Linked DNA regions of Homo sapiens: regions 2, 3, 4, 5 and 6 are each linked to region 1. Evidence: promoter capture Hi-C in 16 types of primary human blood cells and fetal thymus (Javierre and others, 2016). All regions are on one chromosome and are shown on one strand. The core of a region is centred on a gene start or on the middle of the fragment in contact, and the rest is flanking DNA. Distances in the headings are between cores, read along the strand shown.

Evidence for each region. The method cuts DNA at HindIII sites, captures the fragments that hold promoters and counts their contacts. A CHiCAGO score of 5 or more calls a contact.
Region 2: a fragment that was not itself captured here is called in contact with the fragment with the promoter of USP29 in region 1 in 2 of 17 cell types (fetal thymus and total B cells); the score reaches 6.0 in fetal thymus.
Region 3: a contact is called between the fragment with the promoter of ZSCAN22 here and the fragment with the promoter of USP29 in region 1, in 1 of 17 cell types (naive CD8 T cells). The highest score is 6.9, in naive CD8 T cells.
Region 4: a contact is called between a fragment that was not itself captured here and the fragment with the promoter of USP29 in region 1, in 1 of 17 cell types (total CD4 T cells). The highest score is 5.3, in total CD4 T cells.
Region 5: a contact is called between the fragment with the promoter of NLRP8 here and the fragment with the promoter of USP29 in region 1, in 10 of 17 cell types (M0 macrophages, total CD4 T cells, neutrophils and 7 more). The highest score is 19.8, in M0 macrophages.
Region 6: a contact is called between the fragment with the promoter of NLRP9 here and the fragment with the promoter of USP29 in region 1, in 1 of 17 cell types (M0 macrophages). The highest score is 7.5, in M0 macrophages.

What each region holds. Positions count from the first base shown.
Region 1 is chr19:57,117,625-57,121,258 of GRCh38, forward strand. USP29 (ubiquitin specific peptidase 29) reads left to right here and starts at 2,361. Exons shown (of 4, transcript NM_020903.3): 1 at 2,361-2,605. The HindIII fragment of the contact is 8,956 bases long and covers 1-3,634 here.
Region 2 is chr19:58,166,143-58,169,796 of GRCh38, forward strand. The region is part of intron 1 of LOC124904784 (a long non-coding RNA gene); the gene reads left to right. Among named protein-coding and RNA genes, the nearest start is that of ZNF274, 15 kb to the right of the region's middle. The HindIII fragment of the contact is 1,212 bases long and covers 886-2,097 here.
Region 3 is chr19:58,325,358-58,328,654 of GRCh38, forward strand. It overlaps ZSCAN22 (zinc finger and SCAN domain containing 22), which reads left to right and starts at 1,637. Exons shown (of 3, transcript NM_181846.3): 1 at 1,637-1,757. LOC105372480 (a long non-coding RNA gene) reads right to left here and starts at 1,891. Exons shown (of 3, transcript NR_144444.1): 1 at 1,466-1,891; 2 at 1-4. RefSeq lists enhancers at 1,522-2,264, 1,608-1,937. The HindIII fragment of the contact is 13,061 bases long and covers 1-3,297 here.
Region 4 is chr19:58,129,076-58,132,523 of GRCh38, forward strand. ZNF329 (zinc finger protein 329) reads right to left here. Exons shown (of 4, transcript NM_024620.4): 4 at 1-436. The coding sequence starts at 428. Among named protein-coding and RNA genes, the nearest start is that of ZNF329, 20 kb to the right of the region's middle. The HindIII fragment of the contact is 2,632 bases long and covers 474-3,105 here.
Region 5 is chr19:55,946,506-55,949,944 of GRCh38, forward strand. NLRP8 (NLR family pyrin domain containing 8) reads left to right here and starts at 1,327. Exons shown (of 10, transcript NM_001433706.1): 1 at 1,327-1,764. The coding sequence starts at 1,398. The HindIII fragment of the contact is 8,931 bases long and covers 1-3,439 here.
Region 6 is chr19:55,736,929-55,740,266 of GRCh38, forward strand. NLRP9 (NLR family pyrin domain containing 9) reads right to left here and starts at 1,474. Exons shown (of 9, transcript NM_176820.4): 1 at 1,167-1,474. The coding sequence starts at 1,446. It also overlaps the pseudogene RN7SKP109. The HindIII fragment of the contact is 10,494 bases long and covers 1-1,551 here.

The sequences.
Region 1 (3,634 bases), core at 1,111-3,610:
TGTCCTGCATCTCCTGAGGAAGGGCAGAGGGCTGAGGAGCAGTCCTTGGGAAGCACAAACATGTGAGAATCCAGGTTGGCTCTATGCCCTACCCAGTAACGTAGCCCCAAATCTCTGCCTTAGCTGACATGGGGGCACACTGAAGTCTTGTGAAGGGTAGAAGGGACCATGTTGAGGCAGGGACAACCTTGCCTACAGGTGATTCAGGTAATCCCACAAGTTCAGCCACAGAAAACAAGCATGACCATGTGCAAAGACTTCCACGAGACCACTTGTCACAGGGTTGTTTTAATTCAAGCAACATCAACATACACCAGAAACTTGTGAAGAAAATTATGGCACATTTGTATAACTTCAGTGTCAAGAAGCCAGCGGTATTTTGCAGATAATGCAAGGTCTGTAGATCGAAAATTAAGTTGGGTGTCTTCCTTTAGTGTACAAACACCTTGGATGTTTGAGGAAATCCAAAGACAAGGTTCTAGGCATTTTATACGTGTTAACTCATGTATTATGTTAATTCTCACAATAATCCTTTGGAACTAGTACGATCACCATCCCTGCCTTATTGAGGAGGAAATGGGGTACAGAGAGCTTAAGCAACTTGCCAGTGTCATGCAGCAGGGAAGCGCTGGAGGCAGGGCTCCAACCCACGCAGCCTTGCTGCATGTTTGTGGAATGAACACAGGACTCAGGCACACAACCATCTGGCTGAGGCTCCATGAGCAGCCAGGAGCCTGGTCCCAATGCAGTCTCCTTATAGGCACAAATGGGGTGCCCCTTGAGACAGGAATAATAAAGGTGGTCACAGGAGAACGGAAAATTCCAGGCAACAGTTTCACATGACTAGCAAAGGAAACCGTTGAAATCGCTGCGTAAGCTAGGGGCGGATAAGACTCTGAAAACCAGGGTGTGGGCCAAGCTGGCTAAAGCCGACTGGACCCAACATGGTGCTGGATTCGACCCGTTTCACCTAGGACCTCTCATTATGTGCTCATTAACATACTAAGTCACACACCCACTGTGACAGCTCTGGGGAACACCCGTATTTAGTATAAAAATGTGTGGCACCGCAGTACCAAGAAATGTTTACCTTTTTCCAAGAATCTTCATGAATATTCCACCCCTTGGTTAAATAAATATTTAAAGGTAGCTCCAAACCCCGCTGGGCGTGATGCTCTGTGGTATGCCTGCACTTTTCTTTCTTCAGTACGTACTTATTCCCGTCGCAATGAATCTCCACACTTTGTTCTGCTCATCCATGAATTCCTTCTCACGACAGTGTCAAGAGCCTGGACACCAGTCAGGGTCGAGGCCTCACCAGCATCTTGGGGCCTCACTGGGCACAGACGCGTGAGCGCCCGGCCTGCAGACCTGACTCTGGCAGCCGCTCAGGCCCTCAGAGGGAGAGATGGAAGCTGGCAGGACGCAGTTGCTACCGCGCGGACCCGGCCCCCGACCAGCCTTGGCCCCTCGCGCGCCGGGACAGGGCCACAAATGACTGCACCTGGGCTTCGCTGGCCCAGGCACCACGCGACTCTAAGCGCGCCCAAAGCGACCCTCTGCGCAAACTACCCCCGGGGACGACGTCACCCGTGAGGTCCCGCGGCGCCTCCTCCTAAAGCTCGGCTGGGAAACCGTCCGCTTCCCCAAGACTTGGGGGCTTGTGGCCGAGTTGTTTTAGTTTTCCTGTAGGATTCACGGGTGGCTGAGGCAAACACGCTTGAAGGCCTAAGACTTTTAAGTCTCTTCCGCACCCTCTCTTCTGTCTCTTCCACCTGGAGGATGACCGCTTTTTTGGGGGTTTTGTTGTTGTTTTGAGACGGAGTCTCGCTCTGTCGCCCAGGCTGGATTGTAGTGGCGCCATCTCCGCTCACTGCAACCTCCGCCTCCCGGGTTCAAGCGATTCTCCTGCCTCAGCCTCCCGAGTAGCTGGGATTACAGGCGCCCACCACCATGCCCGGCTGATTTTTGTATTTTTAGTAGAGACGGGGTTTCGCCACGTTGGTCAGGCTAATATCAAACTCCTGACCTCAGGTGATCCGCCCTCCTCGGCCTCCCAAAGTGCTGGGATGACAGGCGTGAGCCACCGCGCCCGGCCGGGATGACTGTTATTAACAATTCCCGGCGTGGTTTCTAGCACCAGCCCACCTACCACACCCCACCTCGCTTGAGGCTGAATGGGTAACAGGATGAACCCGCCCCTGGGCTGGTTTTCTCTGAACCCTAACTCCTGCCGTTACGCCCCACCAGCTCTAGGCCAGGAACTCTATGTGCCCCGGCCACGCTAGAGCCCGTACCTAGACCCGTAGGTCGGGAGGCCTGCGCCCGGCACTGCGCAGACGCAGCGTGCTGTGCCCAGAACTCTTCTGTTCCCAGGAGAATCAGGGGAGTCGGCGCCGGAAGGGGCGGGTCCGAGCTGAGATTTCCAGAGCCATGGGAGCCGGAAGTCCAAGGAACTGTACCTCCATCATGACGACTCCGGTTACGTAAAAACATTCAAACAGAAAATGCTGGCCAGGCTCATGCCTGTAATCCCAGCACTTTGGGAGGCCGAGGCGGGAGGATCGCTTGTGCCCAGGAGTTGGAGACCAGCCTGGGCAACATAGTGAGACCCTCCCCCCACCCATCTCTACAAAAAATTTTAAAATTAGCTAGCTGAGATCATGCCACTGCACTCCAGCCTGGACAACAAAGTGAGACTATGTCTCAAAAAAATTTAAAAATTACCCACGCCTGTAGTGTCAGATAGTCAGGAGGCAGAGGTTGGAGGATGACTTGAGCCTTGGGGATCGAGGGTGTAGTGAGGTATGATCGCACCACTGCACTCCAGCCTGGGCAACAGAGCAAGACCCTGTCTCAAAAACTATATAAAAGAAAAAAGGGCTGGGTCGGTGGCTCACGCCTGTCATGCCAGCACTTTGGGAGGCCGAGGCGGGTAGATCACCTGAGGTCAGGAGTTTGAGACCAGCCTGACCAACAAGGTGAAACCCTGTCTCTACTAAAAATACAAAAATTAGCTGGCCATGATGGTGGGTGCCTGTAATCCCAGCTACTGGGGAGGCTGAGGCAGGAGAATCACTTGAACCCCAGAGGTGGAGGTTGCAGTGAGCCGAGATCACACCACTGCACTCCAGCCTGGGCGACAGAGCGAGAGACTCCGTCTCAAAAAAAAAAAAAAAAAAAAAAAAACAGAAAAAAGGCCGGGCACGGTGGCTCACTCCTGTAATTCCAGAACTTTGGGAGGCCAAGGCGGGCGGATCAGGAGTTCGAGACTGCCTGGGCAACATAGCGAAACCCCGTCTCTACTAAAAATACAAAAAATTAGCCAGGCGTGGTGGCGGGCTCCTGTAATCCCAGCTACTCAGGAGGCTTAGGCAGGAGAATCACTTGAACCCAGGAAGCAGAGGCTGCAGTGAGCCGAGATCACGCCATTAAACTCCAGCCTCGGTGACAGAGTGAGACTCCATCCCCGCTCCGCTCCCTCACCTCCCGCCAAAAAAAAAAAAGAAAATGCACTGCAATAGAAAAATAAAAGTACTACACTTTGGTCAAACAGGGTAACTACTAGAACGTAAAATGATCTTTTTGAAACTATCCACATTTGTTACACGTGTTGAAAATGTAGGATATATAT
Region 2 (3,654 bases), core at 242-2,741, 1.0 Mb after region 1:
AGACTTGCAAACAGTTCAGTGTAGAAAAGCCTTATATATGAAATATACGTAGTAAATTTTTTAAGTGTAGCACAAGTCTCAGTCAATGTAAGCGAATTCATGTTAGAGAGAGTTGAGTTGAATGTAAGGAATGTGGAAAAGTGTATTCAGAGCTCCTCTCATCTTTGTTTTGAGAGCACTCACACAGTTGACAAACCCTCCAGATGTTCTGAATGTGAGAAATCCCTGTTTATGGTAAATACTTTCTGACATCAGAGAAGTCATACTGGAGAGAGACCATATAAATGTAGTATGTGTAAAGAAGTCTTTAAACAGAGCTCAACCCCACTGATGTATGAGCAAACTCTCTCAGGAAATAGACCTTACAAATGTGTTGAGTGTTGGAGAGTCTTTATTAAGAAATATTTCTTTCAGTATGTTTCAGAACTTATACAGGAGAACAATACTATAAATGTAATCGCTGTAGCAAAGGCTGTAGACACAAATTATACCTTATTCAATATGAGACAATTTATACTTGTGGGAAATTATATATTTGCAGTGAATTTAGGAAATTCTTCTAAAGAAGTGAACACTTTTACCCTATAGCTAAGAATCTATAGAGACACCTTATGAAGGGAATCATTCAGGGAAAGGTTTTACACTTTGCTCCTCCACTACTCAAAAATCACAGAAGACACACTGGAGAGCAAAGTGATGGATACAGTCATCGTGGGAAAGGCTTCAGACGTAGCCTAGCCCTTATGATGTGACATCAGAGGACTCATACTGAGGAAAACCCCATACATGTAATTTGCGTGGAAGAGCATTCAGGAGTTGTTCTCATATTATTGAACGTAAGAGGACTCATACTGGAGAACACTATGAATGCAGTCAGTATTGGCAAGCTTTCAACCATGGCTTTTACCTTATTTGACACCAGGAAATTCAAACAAATTAGAAAAACTCATTGAAAAAAGATCAATGTGGAAAAGCTATTGGTTGGAATTCCATTTTATTTGACATCAGGGATAAAGGAGGCAAAAGCCACCAGTTATTTTTTAACTCTTAAGTATCTGAATGTAACAAGACTGCAAACTTGTGACTCCCTGCAGCCACAGATCAGCAGGGATAAGCAGTTCTATTCTACATATGTCCCTAATTTGCCATAGAAACACCATTTAATGGGGACTCAGGGTCTAGGCCTGATGAACAATGTCTCATAGAAATGTCTGGCCATATGCGGCTGGGCACAGTGGCTCACGCCTGTAATCCCAGCACTTTGGGAGTCCGAGGCGGGTGGATCACGAGGTCAGGAGATCAAGACCATCCTGGCTAGCACCGTGAAACCCCGTCTCTACTAAAAATACAAAAAAAAAAAATTAGCTGGGTGTGGTGGTGGGCGCCTGGAGTCCCAGCTACTCAGGAGGCTGAGGCAGGAGAATGGTGTGAACCCAGGAGGCAGAGCTTGCTGTAAGCCGAGATCGTGCCACTGCACTCCAGCCTGGGTGACAGAGCAAGACTCCGTCTCAAAAAAAACAAGAAAAAAAGAAAAAGAAAAAGAAATGTCTCCCATATGCCTGTAATCCCAGCTACACAGGAGGCTGAGGCAGGAGAATAGCTGAACCCAGGAGGTGGAGGTTGCAGTGAACCAAGATCACACCACTGCCCTCCAGCCCGGGCAACAGAGCAAAACTCCATCTCAAAAAAAAAAAAAAAAATGGTTGCCATAGATAATCATGGCTGGGCACAGAGGCTCACACCTGTAATCCCAGCACTTTTGGAGGGCAAGGCAGGTGGATCACTTGAGCTCAGGAGTCCAAGACCAGCCTGTGCAACATGGAGAAACCCCGTCTCTAATAAAAATACAAAAATTAGCTGTGCGTGGTGGTGCATTCCTGTAGTCCCAGCTACTTGGGAAGTGAGGACTGCTTGAGGGGGTCAAGGCTACAGTGAGCTGAGATGGTACCACTGCACTCCAGCCTGGGTGACTAAACGAGACCCTGTCTAAAAGAAAAGAAAAGAAGAGAAATGGTTGTCATAGGTAATCACATGTAAATTTTTTTTTTTTTAAAGAGTGAGCAACAGTAAGATTTATTGCAAAGAGCGAAAGAACAAAGCTTCCACAGTGTGGAAGGGGACCCAAGCGGGTTGCCCATAAATGTTATCAGTGGCAACAGCGTATCTGTTTTTCTACATCACGTATGAATAAAAGAACCGTCAACCTTGAAGAATGGTGCAGGAATCATATGGCAACAGCGTATCTATTTTTCTACATCACGTATGAATAAAAGAACCGTCAACCTTGAAGAATGGTGCAGGAATCATACACCTTTTAGCATCATGGGGATCCTTATGTGTATAATTTTATGATAGTCCTAGATGAGGGCTGAAGGATATGCTATCAATTTTTTTCTGCATAATCCAAATATTATCACTCCAAACAAATCAGAGAGCTTTATACTAACTTGCTAATACTTTGCCAATAGCATTCTTCTATCTACTTGAATAGAAGCATCATAAAGAGTTGTATGTTGGCCAGGCACGGTGACTCACACCTGTAATCCCAGCATTTTGGGAGGCCGAGGCAGGAGGATCACCTGAGGTCAGGAGTTTGAGACAAGCCTGGCCAACATGGTGAAACCCTGTCTCTAGTAAAAATAGAAAAATTAGCTGAGTGTGGTGGCACATGCCTGTAATCCCAGCTACTTGGGAGGCTAAGGCAGGAGAATCAGTTGATCCCGGGAGGTAGAGGTTGCAGTGAGCCAAGGTTGTGCCATTGCACTCCAGCCTGGGTGACAAGAGCAAAACTCCATCTCAAAAAAATAAAAAAAATGAGTTGTACGTATCTTCACATTTCTAAGGGCATGTCCAATGTCTTGGCAGGGTTAAAAAGACATCATAGTCTGGTGAAGTACCCATACTCCAAAACTAGTGCAAACTTCACAAGTTTCATTGCAAATCCCTTACAAAGAGCACAGGGTATGTATAAGCAGCATTGGTTTCTCTTCTGAAACCCTGGACACTAGAAGATAAGTGAAGATTCCAGAAACACAAAGACTCTGATTTCAGGATTTGATGCTCAGCAAATATATCATTCACACATATGAGGAGAGAGTAAGCATTTTCAGACCTGTTAGCATTCAAAATTTGTATTCTTTCTGGAAAAACTGCCCAAGAGAACATAATAGTAATTTCTTACAATGGAAGTATGAGCCATGTCCCCAAAAGACATCTAAAAGGACACTCATAGAAGCATTAGTCATAAGGGGCCAAAACTGGATACAGCCCAGCAGTCCATCAATAATAAAATGTATAAACAAAATGTGGTACATCCATAGTGGAATACTACTCAGCAATTTACCAAACATTAACTACTGATACATGCAGCAACTTGGATGAATCTCTAACACATTATGTTGACACAGAAAACCATAGACTATATGATTCCATTTATATGAAGTTTGAGGACAGAAAAAAAACTTATGATGATAATCAGGATAGTGGTTAACTCTGGGAGATATTAACCAGGAAGTGGTACAGGGTTTTGGAAATATATTTTCTGTTGACCTGTGTGATGGATTTTTATATATGGACATTATATATTTATATATTTAGACATATATAAAAAAACTCATCAAGTTGTGAAGTTGAGGACTTTATGCCTATATATAT
Region 3 (3,297 bases), core at 387-2,886, 1.2 Mb after region 1:
TTATCTGTGGAAGGAAAAGAATATATGCTCATTCCAGCTGCTAGCAGTCTGCAGGGCAAAGTCTGAGAATAATAGGGGATGTGAGCACAGGCTGGGGCCAAGAAACACCACCAGCACCACCAAGCAATCATACACACCCTGCCTCAAAAAGGCCTCACCTGAACATAGGCTGGGCCACCAACCTCTATGTATCGGGCCCCAAGCCAGAGTCTCCTGCTCAATGTCTCTTACACATACACACACACACAGAGAAGATACATTCTCACACACAGTCCAGGCATCGACTGAATCACACAATCACACTACCATTCACAGTCACCGTAACAACATCACACACAGTCTAGGGCCTTTATACTGTGTCAGGTCCACCCCATTACCTCTAAGTATCTGTCTCAGACACAATTACACCTGGTGCAGGCAAACACAGCTGCATGATTATCACATATGATGATTAAATCACAGGTCACACACACGCAGAGTAAGCACACAGAACAACCCACAAACCTGGTCACAGAGTGACTCATGCAGACAGACGCCCAGCTCAAATTCAGTAAAAAATGATACACATTTATAAAAATGATTACATGTGTTCACAGAGAGCCACACATAGCTACACTCAATACACACCCTGACATAGGCAACCACACCGCTCACCTCTCACAAAGGCACCTTCAGTACTTACACAGACACTCACACCCACAAGCCCTCAGACAGGCACCCTCTCCCCTCACTCCTAACATGGGCACCCTCACCTCTCACCCAGGTACCCTTGTTACTGGTGGAGGGTGTCCAGGTTCTTGGCATCTTGAACAAATAATTGGACAAAATGCACAAAGAAAAGAATGAAGCAACAAAAGCAGAGATGTATTGAAAATGAAAGTACACTCCACTGTATGGGAGCAGGCCGGAGCATAGGGGCTCAAGAGCCCGGTTACAGAATTTTCTGGGGTTTAAATACCCTCTAGAGGTTTCCATTGGTTACTTGGTATATGCCCTATGTAAATGAAGAGGACGAAGTAAAGTTACAAAGTGATTTACTCCATGTACGCCCTGCATAAATGGAGAGGATATTTCCTACCATAGCTGCAGTTTCCATTTGATTTACTTCTAGGAAGTCCTTAGGTTCCCTGCCTCCAGACCCGATTTTCTTGCCTCACCCTTACCCCTCACCCCTCACACAAACACCCTCAGCCCTCCCAAAGCCACCCTCAGCCTCACACAGCCGCCCTCACCCTCAGCCTCACACAGGCACCCTCAGCTCTCACACAGGCACCCTCAGCCCTCACACAGCCGCCCTCACCCTCAGCCTCACACAGGCACCCTCAGCCTCACACAGGCACCCTCAGCTCTCACACAGGCACCCTCAGCCCTCAGCCCTCACACAGCCGCCCTCACCCTCACCCTCACACAGGCACCCTCAGCCTCACACAGGCACTCTCACCCTCAGCCTTCACATTTCCCTCACCTCCAAGTCCCGCCTTTCGCGCATCGCCTGCTGCTCTCCCACTCAGCGCCACCTCAGTCCCACAAAGGCCGGGCTGGGATCCTGTGGCCTCCGTGCTGACCAACGTCAACTACAATTCCCAGCAGGCACCGCGCCTGGGTACACTTGAGCTTCCGGAGGACGCCGGGAATTGTAGTCCTGGCGGGCGTGGGCCCTTGAGGTGTGCTGGGAGCTGTGGTCCGGGTCGGCGGGCGCGCAAGTTGGCTAGTCTCTGCGGCCACCTCCGGAAGGGTCCGCCGGCTGTGCTGGTGAGGTGGGTTTCGGGGGTGTTCTCCGTCCTGATCCAGGCTGGAGAGGGGCACAGCAGGTCCAGAAGCCGCGAACCTCTGGGGCGGCCAGAGCGAGATGCGGGGTACCGCCCAGCGGGTAGAGAGTGAGAGGCTGACTAGGGGACGTGAGTAGACGGACTGCGAGTGCCGGACACACGCGCAGAGGATGTGACGGACTGACGGACCAGGCGTGGACGGACCGTGTGTGCACGGACTGACGGACCCGGTGTGGACAGACTCACGGACCGAATGTGGTGCGGAATGACACACTGAGTGCCGGACGGACCGACGGAGAATGTGTCGGACTGACGGAGTGTGTGTCGGATGGACTGATTGACCGGGTGTGGGGCGGACGAAGTGTGGAGCGGGCGGACAGATAACAGATAAAATGTAGGACCAGTGGCCTGGGAGGGTGTGGGGCGGACCCGTTTATGTGTCTGATAGGCGGTTCTGTGTCTGACACCTCTTGGGTGTGTGTATCTGACGGGTTGGAGTGTGTGATTCTGATAGGTTGAGTGTAACACTAACCATGGAGTGTGTGACTGACAGAGATGGTTGCCGTTTGAGACTTCCTACGTGGGTTGTGAGATACTGTGAGAGGGTGAGCGTGTGACGGTGGGATTTCAAGTGTGACTGATTTTCTTTGTGTGTCCTTGAGATGGTGACTAAGATTATGAATGACTGTGATCAGAATAATACTGTGTGATGGAAATGCTGCGAGGGCCTGTGTTTATTTTTGAGACGGAGTCTTGCTCTGTTGCCCAGGCTGGAGTGCAGTGGCGCAATCTCGGCTCACTGCAACCTCCATCTCCCGGGTTCAAGCGATTATCCTGCGTCAGCCTCCCGAGTAGCTGGGATTACAGGCACCGGCCACCACACTTGGCTAATTTTTGTATTTTTGGTAGAGACGGGCTTTCACCATGTTGGTTAGGCTGGCCCGGAACTCCTGACCTCAGGTGATCCACCTGCCTAGGCCTCCCAAAGTGCTGGGATTATAGGCATGAGCCACCATGCCTGGCCAGGCCTGTGTTTATTTGACTGATTATAGGTGACATTGAGATATTTCCTGTGTCTGGGTATTTTGAAGGCTGTGGCTGACAGACTGTACCTGAGATAATATGTGTTAATATCTGATTGACTGAGATTTTTATCAGGGAGACTAAAACTTGGGTGATCCACAAACAGTTTACCAAGCATATGAGAGAGGATTTGTGCTTTGCCATGTCTGCAGCTGAAACTGAGTGACTAGTGGTCATTCAGCTGGGCTTATGGATATGTCCCCCAGTGTTTGCTTACGTGTAGCAGGGGGCTATGGTATCCATACATCTACTGCATGTTTACTGTGCACCAGGCCTGTGCTGGACACTTATAATAAATCACCTCACATAATCTCATAGCAACCCTCTGAGGTAGGTACCATTATCAGGCTTGGTATAATCCATGTGTGAGAAATGAAAAGAACCACCCTCCTTGGTTGGTAAAGCAGCTGTGGATGGGGAACCTCAACCTGATAGGAGTTGAGGT
Region 4 (3,448 bases), core at 540-3,039, 1.0 Mb after region 1:
CTCACTGGATTTCTTCCATGAATAACTTCCATGGAATGGTTGAAGCCTTTTCCACAGGCATCACTGTCACCAGTTCTCTTATCTGCATAACTTTTAGGATAGCTGGGTAAGGCGGGGTCACAATCCAGACCACTAACATTTGAGTCAGGTGCATGGAAACCATTTGTTGCCAGAACTCTCTGAGACGGTGGAAGGTCTGAGCTTGCAATCAAATGCTCCCCAAAACCAGGATATTCACAAATTGCTTCCTGAGTCCCTGGTTTCTCCAGAGTTAAAGCTGATTGCCTCAAGTGTCCCTCCTGGTTCTCACAGTCCCAACCATCACCTAAACTGGACAAGCAGGGAACTTCCCTTGTGAATCTTTCCACTTCTACATCACAGGGTACTTCTCTCTCAGGAAAATTCCGAGTCGTCATTTTCAATCTCATATCCCAAACTGCAAAAAGAAGAAAAATGCAGACTTAGGTATATGAAGCTTTATCTGTAAGAGAAACAGACAATGATGATGGGCTAGGTGTAAAGATGTGTATTTTTTTACTTGTTTTCTCTTTTAAATTCAAATTTATACAAGGAAGAGGTAAAATCGTAGCCAAGGAATGGAACCAAGAACAGATTCAAAAAGAGCCATGTAGCATTTTCATCTTCCTAGAGAGCAGGCAGGAGGAATGGACCTCGGGATAAATCATCACCAAAAGGATTAGTTTGAGATGTGAGAGACCAGAGGCCAAGCATCCCTGCTCCCCCTAGAATTCCATCCCAGCCACTGCATTCTTGTCCCTGTCACACACTGCCCATCAGTACACATTTCCAAAGCTCTGACTTCACAATGAGCTTACAACAGCACTGAAGGAACAGTTCTCACCCCAGCTCTGTCATCAAAGTTCTGCATTCATGGATAGGACAAAGCACAGGCTTGGTGACCTAAAAGTTCTGGGTCTAAGTCTTAGAACTGTCAATGACCTGGCGGGGCACAGTGGTTCACTCCTGTAATCCCAGCACTTTGGGAAGTGGAGGCAGGTGGATCATTTGAAGTCAGGAGTTCAAGACCAGCCTGACCAACATGGTGAAACACCGTCTCTACTAAAAATACAAAAAAAATCAGCCAGGCGTGGTGGCACATGCCTGTAGTCCCAGCTACTCTGGAGGCTGAGGCAGGAGAATCACTTCAACCTGGTAGGCAGAGGTTGCAGTGAGCTGAGATCACACCACTGCACTCCAGCCTACGCGGCAGAGTGAGACTCCATCTCAAAAAACAAAACAAAACAAAAACTGTCAAAGACTGCCCTGCATGGTTGTTATAAAAACTGGATCATGTCGGCCAGGCGCGGTGGTCACGCCTGTAATCCCAGCACTTTGGGAGGCCGAGGTGGGCAGATCACAAGGTCAGGAGATTGAGACCATCCTGGCTAACGTGGTGAAACCCCGTCTCTACTAAAAAAATACAAACAATTAGCCAGGCGTGGTGGCGGGCGCCTGTAGTCCCAGCTACTCGGGAGGCTGAGGCAGGAGAATGGCGCGAACCCGGGAGGCGGAGCTTGCAGTGAGCCAAGATCGTGCCACTGCACTCCAGCCTGGGCCACAGAGCAAGACTCCGTCTCAAAAAAAAAAAAAAAAAAAAACTGGATCATGTACAAAGCAGTCTCCAAGGCTAGGGGATGAAGGGCATTCTGTAAATGGTTGCATGTGTCTTCATGCATATCAATCTTCCTGTCACCATCCTTGTCCATTCAGACTTCACAATATTAAGACAACTGGTTGTCCATTCATTCGTTCATTCATTTGGTGGGATCGGGTCTCGCTCTGTCATTCAGGCTGAAGTGCAGTGGTGTGATCTTGGTTCACTGAAGCCTCAATCTCAAAAACTTCAAGCAATTATCCCACCTCAGCCTCCCAAAATGCTGCAAATACAGGGATGAGCCATTGTGCCCAGCCTTCTTTCTATTTTTTAAGGTAAAATGAAAATAGACCCTTGCCTCAGAATACATACATACATATATGTCTACATTCTAGGCAATTTAAATATATATACATGTATATGTGTATATGTGTGTGTGTGTGTGTGTGTGCGCGTGTATTTACATTTCAGAAGGATACAGGCTGCAACATAAAGTCAAAGTTTAAATAATGTAGTATGCCTTCATAAGTGTGGCAGACTTTGATCAACAAAACTTAACCAAAAAACCATATGGCCAAGCATTGGGGGTCATGCCTGTAATCCCAGCACTCTGGGAGGCTGAAGTGGGAGTTATCACTTGAGCCCACACAGAAGGCTGAGGCTGCAGTGAGCTGTAATTGTGCCACTGCATTCCAGATTGGGCAAAAGAGACCATGTCTTAAAAACAAAAAACAAAAACCAAAAAATAAAAAACAGACAAGGATTAAGAAGTCTGATATCAGCATTCAAATTTTCCATCCAATAAAAGACACAATAAGAGACAAAATGCAAGTGGCAGATAGGGAGAAAATAGGACTTAAAAGCACAAAGAATTATTGCCCAAGAGCTATAGAGGATTCTTACAGAGAGAAAATAAGATTTAAAAGCACAAAGAATTACTGCCCAAGAACTACAGAGGATTCTTACAGAACAGCACATAAAAAGAAAAAAAATGGGCAAAGTAATCAAAGAGCACTTCGTGAAGGGAAAATAGAAATGTCCTGAAAACATTGGCTGGGAGCAGTGGGTCACGCCTGTAATCCCAGCACTTTGGGAGGCTGAGGCAGGTGGACCACAAGGTCAGGAGATCGAGACCATCCTGGCTGACACGGTGAAACCCCGTCTCTATTAAAAATACAAAAAATTAGCCAGGCGTGGTGGCGGGCGCCTGTAGTCCCAGCTACTTGGGAGGCTGAGGCAGGAGAATGGCATGAACCCGGGAGGCAGAGCTTGCAGTGAGCCGCGATAGCGCCACTGCACTCCAGCCTGGGCAACAGGGCGAGACTCTGCCTCAAAAAAAAAAAAAAAAGAAAGAAAAAAAAGAAATGTCCTGAAAACATCAATATTTATTTTCTCATTCTATCATTCAGGCAATTCCAAACTGCGACTTTAAGAACACAAAATATACACATTTCACGTGAGTAAAAATAAAATGAAGTACAATAATATAAAGCTTTGGTAGGTCACAAGGGAAGAGGGCTTGGAAAGTGGTCAGCGTGCTTGGCAGGGTACCTTAGTGGCAGCTGTGAAAACATAAACTGGGGGCAGGCGCGGTGGCTCACGCCTATAATTCCAGCAGTTTGGGAGGCTGAGGTGGGTGGATCACCTGAGCTCAGGAGTTCGAGACCAGCCTGACTAACATGGTGAAACCCCACCTCCACTAAAAATACAAAAATTAAGCCAGGCACAGTGGCTCACGCCTGTAATCCCAGCACTTTGGGAGGCTGAGGCAGGTGGATCACCTAAGGTCAGGAGTTCAAGACCAGCCTGGGCAACTATGTCTCTACTAAAAAT
Region 5 (3,439 bases), core at 77-2,576, 1.2 Mb before region 1:
AGTTGGGGCAGGGGGGACAAAAATACACCCATGATCCTTTTTATTTTATTTCTTTTTTACATTTCTTTTAGATACAGGGGTACATGTGCAGGTTTGTTATATAGGCAAACGTGTTATGGGGGTGGGTTTGTTGTACAGGTTATCTCATCACCCAGGTATTAATCCCAGTACCCATTAGTTATTTTTCCTGATCTTCTCCCTCCTCCCACCCTCCAGCCTCTAGCAGACTCCAGTGTGTGGTGTTCCCTCTATGTGTCCATGTGTTCTCATCGTTTAGCTACCACTTATAAATGAGCACATGTGGTATTTGGTTTCCTGTTCCTGTGTTAGTTTGCTAAGGAATAATGGTCTCTGGCTCCATCTATGTTCCTGCAAAGGTCATGATCTCATTCTTTTTTATGGCTGCATAGTATTCCATGGTGTTTATGTACCACATTTTTTTATCCGGTCTATCACTGATGGGCATTTAGGTTGATTCCATGACTTTGCTATTGTGAGTAGTGCTGCAATGAACATACACAGGAATGTGTCTTTATAATAGAATGATTTATATTCCTTTGGATATATATCCAGTAATGGGATTGCTGAGTTGAATGGTAGTTCTCTTTTTAGGTCTTTGAGGAGTTGCCCCACTGTCATCCAGAGTAGTTGAACTAATTTACACTCCCACACACAGAGTATAAGTGTTCCTTTTTCTCTGCGACTTCACCAGCATCTGTTATTGCTTGACTTTTTAATAATCACCATTCTGACTGGTGTGAGATGACATCTCGTTGTGGTTTTGATTTGCATCTCTCTAATACATGATCCATTTTTTAAGAATACAGCATCTGTTATTGCTTGACTTTTTAATAATCACCATTCTGACTGGTGTGAGATGACATCTCGTTGTGGTTTTGATTTGCATCTCTCTAATACATGATCCATTTTTTTAAGAATAAAAACTTTGTTGAATTTGAGATCACTTTTAATCTAATGGAGCCTTCTAACCAACCATATATTTTCTAGATTTTAGCTTCACTGAATTATTTTACCTGCTTCTAATTTTTCTTTTCGCTAAACCTTTTGTGAAGGCTTTGATATTTTGCTTGCCTCTTCCCCAAAAGAAGTCATGGAGAATAGAAACTACAAACAATCCATTAGTCTAATGGACTAATCCCAAACATTCCATGCATCTTCAGTTTTTCCATAGGGCAGAGAATCTTTGAGGAAAGGAGGTAAAGGGAGTACCCGGCACGCAGAATACCTGCCAAGTAAGCATTACACGAATCTGTTTTCTTGGGTAGTGTTTTCATCTTCTTGTTTTATTGTTTTATGTCTCTGCAGGTCTCGTGTTTCTCTCTTCCAATCGGTTGTCTTTATCGTGGACACTGAGGTGTTCTCTGCCTTGACTAAAGATGAGTGACGTGAATCCACCCTCTGACACCCCCATTCCCTTTTCATCCTCCTCCACTCACAGTTCTCATATTCCGCCCTGGACATTCTCTTGCTACCCCGGCTCCCCATGTGAAAATGGGGTCATGCTGTACATGAGAAACGTGAGCCATGAGGAGCTACAACGGTTCAAGCAGCTCTTACTGACTGAGCTCAGTACTGGCACCATGCCCATCACCTGGGACCAGGTCGAGACAGCCAGCTGGGCAGAGGTGGTTCATCTCTTGATAGAGCGTTTCCCTGGACGACGCGCTTGGGATGTGACTTCGAACATCTTTGCCATTATGAACTGTGATAAAATGTGTGTTGTAGTCCGCAGAGAGATAAATGGTGAGTGTTGATCTGGTGGATAAAGTGGGGGTGGGCTTGGCTGCTGGGCAGCTAAACTACTCTAGTCACCACCCCTATCACTTATTGGCCTTCTGAGCAAGAAAGCAAACAGTGGAGGAAGATAATGGATCTAACCCAAAGGCAAAGACTGTCATACGGGCATTTTTTTAATTTTATTTTTCTGAGATGGGGTTTCGCTCTTCTTGCCCAGGCTGAAGTGCAATGGCACAATCTCGGCTCACTGCAAACCCCGCCTCCCAGGTACAGGTGATTCTCCTGCCTCAGCCTCCTGAGTAGCTGGGATTACAGGCACCCACCACCATGCCTGGGTAATTTTTTTTTATTTTTAGTAGAGACGGGGTTTCACCATGTTGGCCAGGCTGGTCTCGAACTACTGACCTCAGGTAATCCGCCTGCCTTGGCCCCCCAAAGTGCTGGGATTGCAGGTGTGAGCCACTGTGCCCAGCCCATATGGGCCTATTTTTTAAAAACTTAACTGAATACTGCTTATATGAGGTGAACGTTAAATGAAGTCATAGAGAAGTAGGAAGTAAAATAGTGGAAAAGCATATGCTATGGAAACAGCAGAAGACAGCTGGTATAGCTATGGTGATGTCAGGAGTGCTATATTTAAAGCAAGAAGGTTAAACACTTTAAAAGGCCATTTCGCAGCAACAAAGGGTGAATCCCACTGGAGGATATTGTAATCCAAAACCTCATCTTCAATATGAATAAAGCAGAGCTGGACTACAGTCATCCCCTTATCCAAGGTTTTGCTTTCTGAAGTTTGGGTTGATCATGGCCAAAAATAGATGAGTACAGTACACTGAGATATTCTGAGACAGAGAGAGACCACATTTACATACCGTTTATGATAGTATAGTATTATAATTGTTCTATTTCATTATTATTGTTAATCTCTTACTGTACCTAATTTATAATTTAAACTTTTATCATAGATCGGTATGTATTTTTTTTCTATTTTGAGATGGAGTCTTCATTCTGTCACACAGGCTGGAGTGCAGTGGTGTGATCTCAGCTCACTGCAACCTCCACCTCCCAGGTTCAAGCAATTCTCATGCCTCAGCCTCCCCAGTAGCTGGGATTACAGGTGCGCACCACCACACCCAGCTAATTTTTGTATTTTTAGTAGAAACGGGGTTTCACCATGTTGGCCAGGCTGGTTTCAAACTCCTGACCTTAGGTGATTTGCCTGCCTCGGCCTCCCAAAGTGCTGGAATTACAGGTGTGAGCCACCACACCCGGCCTAGATATGTATTTAAAAAAATCAGTATCCACATTGTTCAGTACTATCCACAGTTTCAGATATCCACCGGGGATCTTGGAACATAGACCCTGCAGAGAAGGGGGGACTACTGTATTAAAGGAAAATACACCAATCCAGAAACATGATAGGAGCTGTGAACCCGCCTCTCCCAATAGCTGATATTACAAGTAGTCAGTCTCATTGGTAAGAATGGAGAAAACGTCAGCTCCACAGTTTTAAACATAAACACAGGAGAGTGGGTGCCTTACGTCTCCTTAGCCACTGGCACCCCAACAGCTGGCTCAGCACCTAGCATGTCATAGGTGCTCAAATATTAGATGGCTAGAGAGTAATTGATTGTGAAAAGGGACTTTCTTTTGATAAGGCAGCCTAGGAAGTCCTCTTTGA
Region 6 (3,338 bases), core at 224-2,723, 1.4 Mb before region 1:
AATAAGGTCTCAAATTAGAATTACCAACACAAAGAAGAAACATGAACAAAACAGAAGTAAACGTAACAGAAGTTGATGGAACTCAAAAGTAAAGGGAGAAGATAACAATCATCAGAAACAAATGCTAATTACTAGATACCTAATAGGGAATATATTTAGTTTTTCCTAAGTATCCCCCGAGAGGAGGGTGTAGACCCCATCAATGAGTCCAGCAGAACTGGTTCGGAGTCAGATCTGTCACTTTTGGAAAAGTCATGTAACACATGGGAACACTGTTTTGTCCAGTTTTCTCACTTGTAAACCTTTCCTGGGTTGTGATAAGAATGAAAAGACATTATGCAGAAAGAATGCTTCCAGGACGTGAGGACAACCTGGCTGTGATGTCTGTCACCCCATTGGTCGCCCCAGGGCTAATTCGGCTGATGTGGCCAGCTGGGTGGGTGTCCACTTCCTCCCTCACTGCTCCATATGCGTCCGTCCTGAAAGTCTCCCCTGGGTCAAAGACGATGACAACCTTTGCCCATAGAGGAAGGTCCTTCCATCGCGGGCAGAAGAGAAGCTGTGCTCCCCTACTAGAACCTCCAAACAAGCTCGCAAGAATGCTTCCTGTAGTACCCGGGACATACGCTGTCTGATTGTCTTAAGATTCTACCTACTCCTTGGTACATGTCTGGTCAAAAAGGACAGGCAGTTAGGCATGGTGGCTCACTCCTGTAATCACAGCACTTTGGGATGCCTAGGCAGGTGGATCACTTGAGCCTGGGAGTTCAAGACCAGCCTGAGCAACATGGCAAGACCCTTTCTCTAAAAAAAAAAAAAAAAAAAAAAAAAAGATAGGCAACTACCATACTAGAATTCCATCTCAGTAGACCTGGCAATGCAGACACTAACTGGCCACTCATCTCCTATAACAACGACTCCACTTGGGGTGGAAAAATGGGAAGACACTCCATAGGTGAACAGTTGGTATCAGGACGCCATCTGTCCCCAGTTCATCGCTGGCCCACATATGAACAGCCCTGGCCTGCAACTCTTCCTACCTTCAACTCTCACCTTGACCCACACACATTCTCATCTGATGGAGGGGGTGGCCACTCATTTAACAATGCTATCACCTTGTTCCCAGGCTTCCCCCATGGGTCCTCGCCCCATCATCCAGCACTTACTTCTCATCTCTTCCTGAGCCTTTGTCCAGAGATCTTTCCTATTGATCTGTAGAAACAGGTTCAGTGTTACCTCCCATGCCTGCTTTCCTGGGTAATGTTTGTCCAGCAGCTTTGCTACATCTTCTTTGGAGGCCTTCTTCAGCTCAGCCCAGGGGATTGGCTTGAGTTCAAATTTCTCCAAAGGTTGTTTGAGGAGCTCCTTAAATTTCCAAAACTCTTCCTTTCTGAGCTCCTTCAGATACCACAACAAGCCAAAATCCGAAAAAAAAGATTCTGCCATATCGCCCCAGGATTGTGAACTGAGGTGTCTCCAGAGGGAAAAGAAAGATCCTCAAAAATAAAGAATAAATGATACCTGGAGAAGAATGACATGATTACAGAGTTAAGCTTCAGCAGCTGAAAGCAGCTCAAAATTATTGATATCATCATGCGTAGCTTGCACCAAACATCATCTAGGGAAGAAGCTTCATCTTTTTCCAAACAAATGCATGTGAATGGTAGAGTTGACTGCCACTTATGTGTCTTGTTTTTGTCTGACATAAATGATGCTTCCAGGAACAAGTGTTTTTGTGTAGTTTGGTGTATATAAGCACACATTTCTCTAGATTTATAAATTATAGGTCAAACAGCAAACACAGGTCACCATGTTTGCTACATAACACTCAACGGTTTTCCCTTGTGTATATAATTACTGACATTCCTACCAGCATTCTATGAGTTTGTTTGCTCTGTAGACCTTCCCATCCTTAGTATAGTCTAATCCAATTTTGATAATGAAAAAATGAACGGATATTAAAATTACAGATGATCACATTCAGGAAGATGAAAATAAAGGAAGAGGACATAAAAGCAAATTTAAATTTTTTTTTATCGTTTAGTGGTATATGCCTTCTTTTTTTTTTTTTTTTTTGAGACAGAGTCTCGCTCTGATGCCCAGGCTGGAGTGCAGTAGCGCAATCTCGGCTCACTGCAAGCTCTGCCTCCCGGGTTCACGTCATTCTCCTGCCTCAGCCTCCTGAGTAGCTGGGACTACAGGTGCCTGCCACCACACCCGGCTAATTTTTTTGTATTTTTAGTAGAGATGGGGTTTTACTGTGTTCGCCAGGATGGTCTCGATCTCCTGACCTCGTGATCCACCCGCCTCGGCCTCCCAAAGTGCTGGGATTACAGGCATGAGCCACCGTGCCCGGCCGGTATATGCCTTCTTATTACAGTATATAAGGAAAAAGTTAGATTTACTATAGGTTAGCATCTGCAGACAACTCAGACAGAAACAGAGCAGTGAACGTTCCCAGTATTATAAACCCTTCAGATAATCATTGCAATTCAACAAAAGACAGGAAATGAAGTAGAAATATATGGTAGACAAAATAAGACAGGTGGCAAAAATAATACCAAATATATATAGATATGTATTTTGAGATAGAGTTTCACTCTTGTTGCCCAGACTAGAATGCAATGGTATGACCTCAGCTCACTGCAACCTCTGCCTCCCAGGTTCAAATGATTCTCCTGCCTCGTCCTCCCAAGTAGCTGGGATTACAGGCACCTGCCACCATGCCCGGCTAATTTTTTTTTTTTGTATTTTTAGTAGAGATGGGGTTTCACCATGTTGGCCAGGCTGGTCTCGAACTCCTGACCTCAGGTGATCCACCTGCCTCAGCCTCCCAAAGTGCTGGGATTATAGGCTTGAGCCACTGCGCCCAGCCTAAATATAATCTTAACACATATGAATGAAATAAAATTGCTCACTAATATATAGACTCACATTGGATAAATACAAATCCTGCTATATGCTGTTTATAAGAGAATCCTAGAAAATACACAGAGAAGTAAAACAGAAGAAGAAAAAGCCTGGCAAATTCTTACCCAAAAAAGTATTAATAGTATAAAATATCAGCATTGAAAAACACTCAAGCTAGAAAGCACTAAATGGACTAAGAATTTTTGAACACCAAGATTCAGTTCCCCAAGATCTAGAACTCATGAGCATATGTGCACCTGGGAATACCACTTTACACATAAGGAGATGATGACAAACGCAATATCATTGTATCTGAGCTAATATACCTTTCAGATAATTACAAACCATTAGCAAAGGTTACATACCATCTATGGTCACATGCAAAAGAATAAACTTGGACCCTTAATACCATAAACAAAAATTAATGC